Linked DNA regions of Homo sapiens: region 1 is linked to region 2. The links are contacts of gene promoters, found by promoter capture Hi-C in blood cells and fetal thymus (Javierre and others, 2016). All regions are on one chromosome and are shown on one strand. The core of a region is centred on a gene start or on the middle of the fragment in contact, and the rest is flanking DNA. Distances in the headings are between cores, read along the strand shown. Region 1 overlaps LINC01560 (long intergenic non-protein coding RNA 1560). Region 2 holds the start of GRIPAP1 (GRIP1 associated protein 1).

What was found. Contacts are between HindIII fragments. The CHiCAGO score rates a contact against its expected background, and 5 or more counts as called.
Region 1: a contact is called between a fragment that was not itself captured here and the fragment with the promoter of GRIPAP1 in region 2, in 1 of 17 cell types (activated CD4 T cells). The highest score is 5.0, in activated CD4 T cells.

Annotation. Positions count from the first base shown.
Region 1 is chrX:47,483,395-47,487,589 of GRCh38, reverse strand. LINC01560 (long intergenic non-protein coding RNA 1560) reads right to left here. Exons shown (of 1, transcript NR_126059.1): 1 at 2,363-4,195. Among named protein-coding and RNA genes, the nearest start is that of ZNF41, 2.3 kb to the right of the region's middle. The HindIII fragment of the contact is 1,138 bases long and covers 2,377-3,514 here.
Region 2 is chrX:49,000,987-49,004,721 of GRCh38, reverse strand. It overlaps GRIPAP1 (GRIP1 associated protein 1), which reads left to right and starts at 2,458. Exons shown (of 26, transcript NM_020137.5): 1 at 2,458-2,534. The coding sequence starts at 2,493. RefSeq lists a cis regulatory region at 567-1,067 and an enhancer at 2,340-2,449. The HindIII fragment of the contact is 9,873 bases long and covers 2,117-3,735 here.

The DNA.
Region 1 (4,195 bases), core at 1,696-4,195, 1.5 Mb after region 2:
GCAGTGAGTAGAGATCGTGCCACTACACTCCAGCCTAGGTGACAGAGTGAGACCCTGTCTCAAAAAATAATAATAAAAAATAAAATAAATAGCCAATGAGCTTAGACGCTACCTTATTAGACAGCTAATACAGTGAAAAAAGAAGAAATATATCAAATGTCAGATAGGAAATATTATCTATATCTGATACAACTGTACAATTAGAAAACCTAGGAAAAAACTGTAATAAGAAGCTACCAGAATAGGTAGATAGTTTTGATAAGGAGTTGGATACAAGATAAAATTATCACCTGTAGTCCCAGCCATTAGGGAGGCTGAGGTGGGAGGATCACTTGAGTCCAGGAGTTTGACACCAGCCTGGGCAACATAGGGAGAACCTATCTCTACGGAAAAATTTAAAAATTAGCTGGGTCTGGTAGTGCACACCTGTAGTCCCAGCTACTTGGGAGGCTGAGGAAGGAGGATCATTTGAGCCTGGAAGGTTAAGGCTACAGTGAGCTGTGATCATGCCAGTGAACTTCAAGGCAAGATCCTATCTCAAAAAATAAAAATAAAAGAGAAAAGTACAAAAATAGGTTATTCCTATACTAGCAGTAACCAGATGGGACTAGCAAAAATAAGTCTTAATGACAACAAAAATATAAATATGCAAAAAATAAATTTAACCAAAAAAGATAAAAAGATGATGGATTTATAAGAAGAAAAATTATAAATATCATTGCAGCATATAAGACGTAATCAAACAGACACATAAAATCCCTAGATACAAAGAAAGGCTTAATGTAATAAAAACATTAAATCTCCCCAACTATTATATTCATATAAATATAATTCCAATAAAATCATAATAGTTTATTTATTTTTTTTTTTGAGACAGAGTCTTGCTCTGTCACCCAGGCTGGAGTGCAGTGGCACGATCTTAGCTCATTGCAACCTCTGCCTCCCGGGTTCAAGCAATTCTCCTGCCTTAGCCTCCCGAGTAGCTGGGATTACAGGCGTGCGTCACTGTGCCAATTTTTGTATTATTAGTAGAGATGGGGTTTCACCATGTTGGCCAGGCTGGTCTTAAACTCCTGACCTCAAGTGATCTGCCTGCCTGGGCCTCCCAAAGTGCTGGGATTACAGGTGTGAGCCACCTCACCCAGCAATAGTTGAGGGTTTGCTTTTTTTTTTTTTTTTTGAGAGAGTCTCACTCTGTTGCCCAGGCTGGAGTGCAGTGGCGTGATCTCTACTCATTGCAACCTCCACCTCCTGGGTTCAAGCAATTCTCCTGCCTCAGCCTCCCAAGTAGCTGGGATTACAGGTGCCTGCCACCACGGGTGGCTAATTTTTTTATTTTTTAGTAAAGACAGGGTTTCGCCATGTTGGCCAGGCTGGTCTCCAACTGCTGGCCTCAAGTTATTTGCCCACCTTGGGCTCCCAAAATGCTGGGATTATAGGCATGAGCCACCTCGCCCAGTCACAACAATTTAGTTTTGCTGTGTTTTTGTTTTTTTTTGCGGGGGGTGGGGGACGGGTTGGTAGCATTCATTTTTGATTAAATGATTTTAAACTTCAGAGAATTCCTAGAAAATAAATTTGCAAGAACAAAAATCCCTTGAAATCAAATAGACTACAGACACAAAATAGAGTTCAGGTCAAGCTAAGCATATTTGTGAACTTATATGACAGAAGCAATATTTAATTCAGTGGTTACAAGGTGGTGTGTTTCATAAATGGTGCCAACTGGCAATACTGAATTTTACCTCATCCTGGTGAGCAGTGCAGGTCAAGAAATCCCCTTACTCCAAAGGGAAAATGGCTTTTCTGGAAAATGGCTTACTGCAAAGAACCATCCTTCCCCATATGACTTAGAAGTCACGGATGTCCCCTGTTTACCTATGAGAAGGCCAGACACCCACTCTCCAAATTCCCATTCTTTGCCTCATAGATGACAAGCCTAACTGCTTGTCTCCACTGATCAATTGGAACAAAATGCTCTTTAGCCAAACTTGAACCAGGCTTCTTTCCTACAAGCTCCTAACTCTGCTTGCCCCCGAGCCTGGGCAAGCATCAAAAAAAGTCGAAATTCCTCCCCTCCCAATGGACCCTGCTTCTCAGCTTCTCCTGGGAATGGGCGCACCACTGTGGGACAATTTCCTGGCAGACCCCACTGGCCATTCCCCCTTGTTTGTGCAGCTTCCTTTCCACAGATTCTGCTTATCTCTGCCTGCCTCCTTACCCTCTACAAGAAAAGCCTTTTTCTGTTTGGTTTCAAGATGCTCTCAGGTTTCTGAGATGGGAGCATTCTCCCTTTTGCAATAGTCTGTCTTTCTAATTAAAGTCTCTTTTTATTTGACACAGAAAAAAGTGTGACACAGGCTTCTTGTTCAAGCTTGATCTTGATTTCATACCATATACCAGAGTAAATTCCAACTAGATTAAAGTAGAAAAAATTAAAGCAATAAAAACACTGAAATACATGTTAAGATTATCTTTCTATCTGGAATAGGGAAGTGAAACTAGGCAAGATGGGATATACAAAAGCCATAAAAGAAAGTTTAGACATATCTGATCAGAGGCTACATTTCACTAGTTACATATTACACATACAATTTTTCTTTCTTTTTTTTTTTTGAGATGAAGTCTTGCTCTATCACCCAGGCTGGAGTGCAGTGGCCCGAGCTCAGCTCACTGCAATCTCCACTTCCCAAGTTCAAGCGATTCTCCTGCCTCAACCTCCCGAGTAGCTGGGATTACAAGCGCCCAACACCATGCCCGGCAATTTTTTTTTTTTTTTTTAGTTGAGATACCACGCCTGGCTATTTTTTTTTTTATTTTTAGTAGAGATGGGTGCTGGGATTACTGTGCCCAGCCCATATAAAATTTTTCTAATTGCACATTTAAAAAAACATAAAATGCAAAAGACAAAAAGAGTTTAGGGAAAAATACTGCAATGTAACTGACAGATGGTTAATATCCTTAATGGACAAAGATGTTAATATCTCTAATGTAATATCCCTAATGTACAGTGTAACTGACAGACTGTTAATATCCCTAATGTACAATGTAATTTGTACACTGTTTACAAATTGATACGAAAAGGAAAAATCACCCTAAAGAAAACTGGACAAAGGATATGAACATTTGCAAAAGAGAAAAGCCAAATGGCCAATAGACCAAAACAATCCTCAATTGCACAAAGTAGTCAGAAAAATACAAAATTAAAGACAGCATCAACATCCAGCGCTGGAGGGGATTTGCCTTAATGAACTTAATGATTTTGCTGGTAGGACTAGGAAACTTTATAATCTTTTGGGGGAAGGAATTTGGCTATATCTATTCAGTAATGAAACCTGCAGTTAATAATAAAACTTCAAAACATAGGAAGCAAAAATTGAATAGCACAAGGAAAACCTGCCAGTACAGTCTCTCTCTCTCCTCTCTCTCTTTCTCCCTGCCACATCACCCCCAGTTGACAAGCTGAAGGGAATTATCAGGAAACACACATTTTAAAAGGCCCAACGCACAAGCTTGAACCAATAGAGCCGCAGAGTACGATAAATCCAACAACTAGAAGATACAGTGTTTTCAATCAAGGCACAAAACCATTTTTGAAAGCTGGCCTCGTACTTGAGCCTTAAGGCAAGTTTCATCAAATTTCAAACTCAACGTTCTTGGGCCACAAGGCAAATGGGCTTAGAAATCACTAACACAGGGATTAACTTCTTGTTCGTTTGCGGAAATGCAAAATGGTGTTAAGACCTGTAACATTTTCTGCAGTCCCTCTAAATTCCTTCTTTGAATAATCGATTCCTAGAACAGGACGCGACGGACCAAGCTGGGTCAAACTGCCGACAGCTCCATTGGGCAGCATGTCCACCCCTGATGACCAAATCCCACCAAACGTGCAGCTGGCACTCGGCCGCCTTTGTTTCCTTCCCCTAGAATAAAACTCCGCTGCTTTCCCACGTTCCTGGAGCAGCAGCCGGAATAAAGCGCCCATGGCCTTGCCCTTTGAGTCTCGGAGGATGTTTGCCACTCCAACAATGGACTTTTAAATAATTCAGGGGTCAAAAGGCGTGTGTGGGGGGGGGAGAAAAGTTACAAATCAGCACTTGAAACCGAACACAAACAAAAATCAAACAAATCCGAACTAATATAACAAATCAAAACTTTGATCTTTAGAAGAAAACTTCAACCTTAATGCTTCCAG
Region 2 (3,735 bases), core at 1,209-3,708:
GTTCAAGACCAGCCTGACCAATGTGGTAAAACCCTGTCTCTACTAAAAATACAAAAATTAGTCGGGCATGGTGGCAGGCGCCTGTAATCCCACCTACTTGGGAGGCTGAGGCAGGAGAATTGCTTGAACCTGGGAGGCGGAGGTTGCAGTGAGCTGAGATCGCGCCAATGCACTCCAGCCTGGGCAACAAGAGTGAAACTCCGTCTCAAAAAAACAAATAAATAAAAATTAAAAATAAAATAAACATAGGACAAGGTGGTGAATCTCACTCATAATAAGAGAAACACAAATTAAAACTACACTAAGAGAATGGATAAACAAATTGTGGTATAGTCATACTATGGATTTTGTTTTGTTTTGTTTTGTTTTTGAGACAGAGTTTTCCCCTCTATCGCTAAGGCTGGAGTGCAGTGGCACGATCTCGGCTCACTGCACCCTCCACCTCTTGGGTTCAAGCGATTCTCATGCCTCAGCCTCCTGAGTAGCTGTGATTACAGGCGTGTACCATCACTCCTAGCTTATTTTTGTATTTTTAGTACAGATGTGGTTTCACCATGCTGGCTGGGCTGGTCTTGCACTCCTGACCTCAGGTGATACACCTGCCTCGGCCTCCCAAAGTGCTGGGATTACAGGCGTGAGCCACTGAGCCCGCCCGGCCCATACTATGGAATTTTACTAGTCAATAAAAAGAAAAAAAGATACTTATACACGAAACAACTTGGATGAATCTCAAAAGGATTATGATGAGTGAAAGAAGCCAGACAGAAAAGGATACATCCTGTCTCATTCTATTTGCATGAAACTCTGCAAGAGAAATGTAATCCAGTAACAGGAAGCCAATCATTGGTTACCTGGGATAGGGGGTGGGGTTTGGGATAGGATACAAAGAAATCAATGTTCCCTATCTTGCTTGTGATGGTGGTTACAAGGTTGTATACATTAGACAAAGCTCACTAAATTGTACCCTTAAAATGGGTGCATTTATGTATATAGACAGATCAATAGCGTTATCTTTCAATAAAGTCAATTAAATCAAGAAAGAAATCAAAGAGTCCTGGCTGGCAATACTTTTCTTTTTCTTTCTTTTCTTGGAGACAGAGTCTCGCTCTATCCCCCAGGCTGGAGTGTAGTGGTGCGATCTCGGCTCACCGCAACCTCTGCCTGGCGGGTTCAAGCGATTCTCGTGCCTCAGCCTTCCGAGTAGCTGGGATTACAGGCGCCCACCACCACACCCGGCCAATTTTTGTGTTTTTAGTAGAGATGGGGTTTCACCATGTTGGCCAGGTTAGTCTCGAACTCCTGACCGCAAGTGAACAGCCCTCCTTGGCCTCCCAAAGTGCTGGGATTACAGGCGTGAGCCACCGCGCCCGGCCCTGCTGGAAATATTTTTCCACAGCAGGGAAATCATTAAATTCTACGAAAATAAGAAGGCTGGGCGCGGTGGCTCACGCCTTAATCCCAGCACTCTGGGAGGCCGAGGCGGGCGGACTACCTGAGGTCGGGAGTTCGAGACCGGCCTGACCAATATGGAGAAACCCCGTCTCTACTAAAAAAAAAAAAAAAAATTACCCGGACGAGGTGGCGGGCGCCTGTAATCCCAGCTACTCGGGAGGCTGAGGCAGGAGAATCGCTTGAACTCGCCAAGCGGAGGTTGCTGTGATCGGATATCGTGCCACTGCACTCCAGCCTGGGCAACAAAAGTGAAACTCCGTCTCAAAAAAGAAAAACAACAACAACAACAACAACAAAAACAGAAAGAAAAAAGAAAATAAGAAAAAAACTACACTGAGATACCATTTCTTACTCTCAGATCGGTGAGGGTTATAGTGAATTCTAATACTTGAATGAGCCTGGTGTTTCACCACCCTGGTTTGTTTTTTGTTTTTGTTTTGTTTTAATGTAGCTTTTTCGTTTGATTCACTGTCACTCTTTCCACTCTGCTATTTTTATTGGTGGCTAAGTCCTTTACCTAACGTGACATGCAGTATCATGATAACAAAATAAGTGTCAAACCTTAAAAAAAAAAAAAAAAAAAAAGGCCAAAGGCTTTACAAGAGGTGGGATTCCCCTTTGGGGTCTCCCGGAGGAGGGGCGGGAACAAGACCAGAGCGAAGCTTCCGCTTTCATTTCTATGGTTATTAAGTTACCCATTCTCATTAAAGGAATACCGCGGAAGGGTGATTTTCTGTCGGCAAAGACTTCCCTAGCGACGAGTCCACCCATGAAACGGGGATGTAATAATGTCGTATCACAATGGGTGGCCTAGAAGAGTCCAAAAGCCAATCAGATGACTTACATTCGGGTAGAACGTTGTATTACAGTTCACCTGACTCGTCGGTTTCGTTCTCTTCTCTGCGTCTCCAAAATGCTGCCCTTCGGAATTAGGTTCTACCCCCTCCATTCCTGGCCAGTGGTTTGGTCCGACCTTAATACTGCCAGGAGGCGCGAGCTGCGTCTGCGCAGAAAGCTGGCGGGGGGGTGGGGGGAGGAACATGGCGCAAGCTCTGTCTGAGGAGGAGTTTCAGCGGATGCAGGTGCCGCTCGCGGTGGGAAAGACCACCCGGCTAGGCGACCGGGGGCGGGGTAGCGAGAGGTCGTGCTATCAGCTCTGAGAAGGGGTTGGTTGGGATGGACCCTGAGTTTATGGGGTGGGTCTGGAGAAGGGAAACTGAGGCTCGGAGTGGTGAGACTATTGGATTCCGAGATACTCTGCGGCTTTGAAGGTTGGACTCTGTTAGCATTGTGGGCTGGGAGAGCGCCATTAAGTAGGCGGTACCTTACTCAGACCTGGAGGGGACGAGACTTTTGGGCCCGTGCAGGGGACACCGTCGGCGGGTGATGATAATGGGCTTTGAGGGAAGGAGATCCTGAGAAGGCGAAACCATTTTGTCTGGAGAGGAAGGAAGCGGGTGTTGGGTCGTTTGCGTCATGGTGGTGGGAGCCCTTGAGAGGGCAGAACCATTAGCGGGTGGGAGGTGGTAAGTTTTGGGGGAGATACCACTGTGCCCGGGGATTGGGGAAAGACCCCAGATGTTGTCATTGTTCCTGGGAGGTGGAGATCCTGTGCCATTGGTGGTTGGTAGTGCATCCTAAGAGGGGGCGGCACCATTGGATGATTAAGGGTGATCCCATTAGGCCTGGGGTGAAGAAGGCCATGAATGGGTAATACCATTAATCCCATTAACTGGGGGGAGGACCAGAGGGGTAAAAGATTGATACCTTGGACTACAAGGAGGGAAGATCACTGGGCTTTGGGGAGGTACCCCCACTTGATTCTTTTGGGGGGACTCTGAGATGCAATGAAAGGCCATAGCATTGCACTATGAATGGGCCCTTGTTGAGAGGGTTCCTCACTGGGGGGGGGGTCTGAACAGGGTCCTGCATGGGGAGGGGAGGAACTCTGAGGGAGGACAGGTAATCCAATTGGTCCTTGAATGAGGGAAACCAGCTGTCCCTGTGTGAGGGACACTGAGAATGGAAGGGCGAGTTGATTAACCCATGAATGGGGAAGACCACTGTCATCTGAAAGGGATTCTAAGTGAGTAAGAGTCATCCAACTGGCCTACCCAAGGCCTTGTAGAGGCCTACCCTGAAGGGTGTAGGGCCATTCCCAATGGATCATGACTGGGGAGATCTTGAGGGGAGTGGGAATACCCTTGAATGAGGAACATTGATCCCACTGGGCCATGAATGAGGGAGAACTACTGGGCTTTGTTGGGGGGCAAGTCTCGGGGG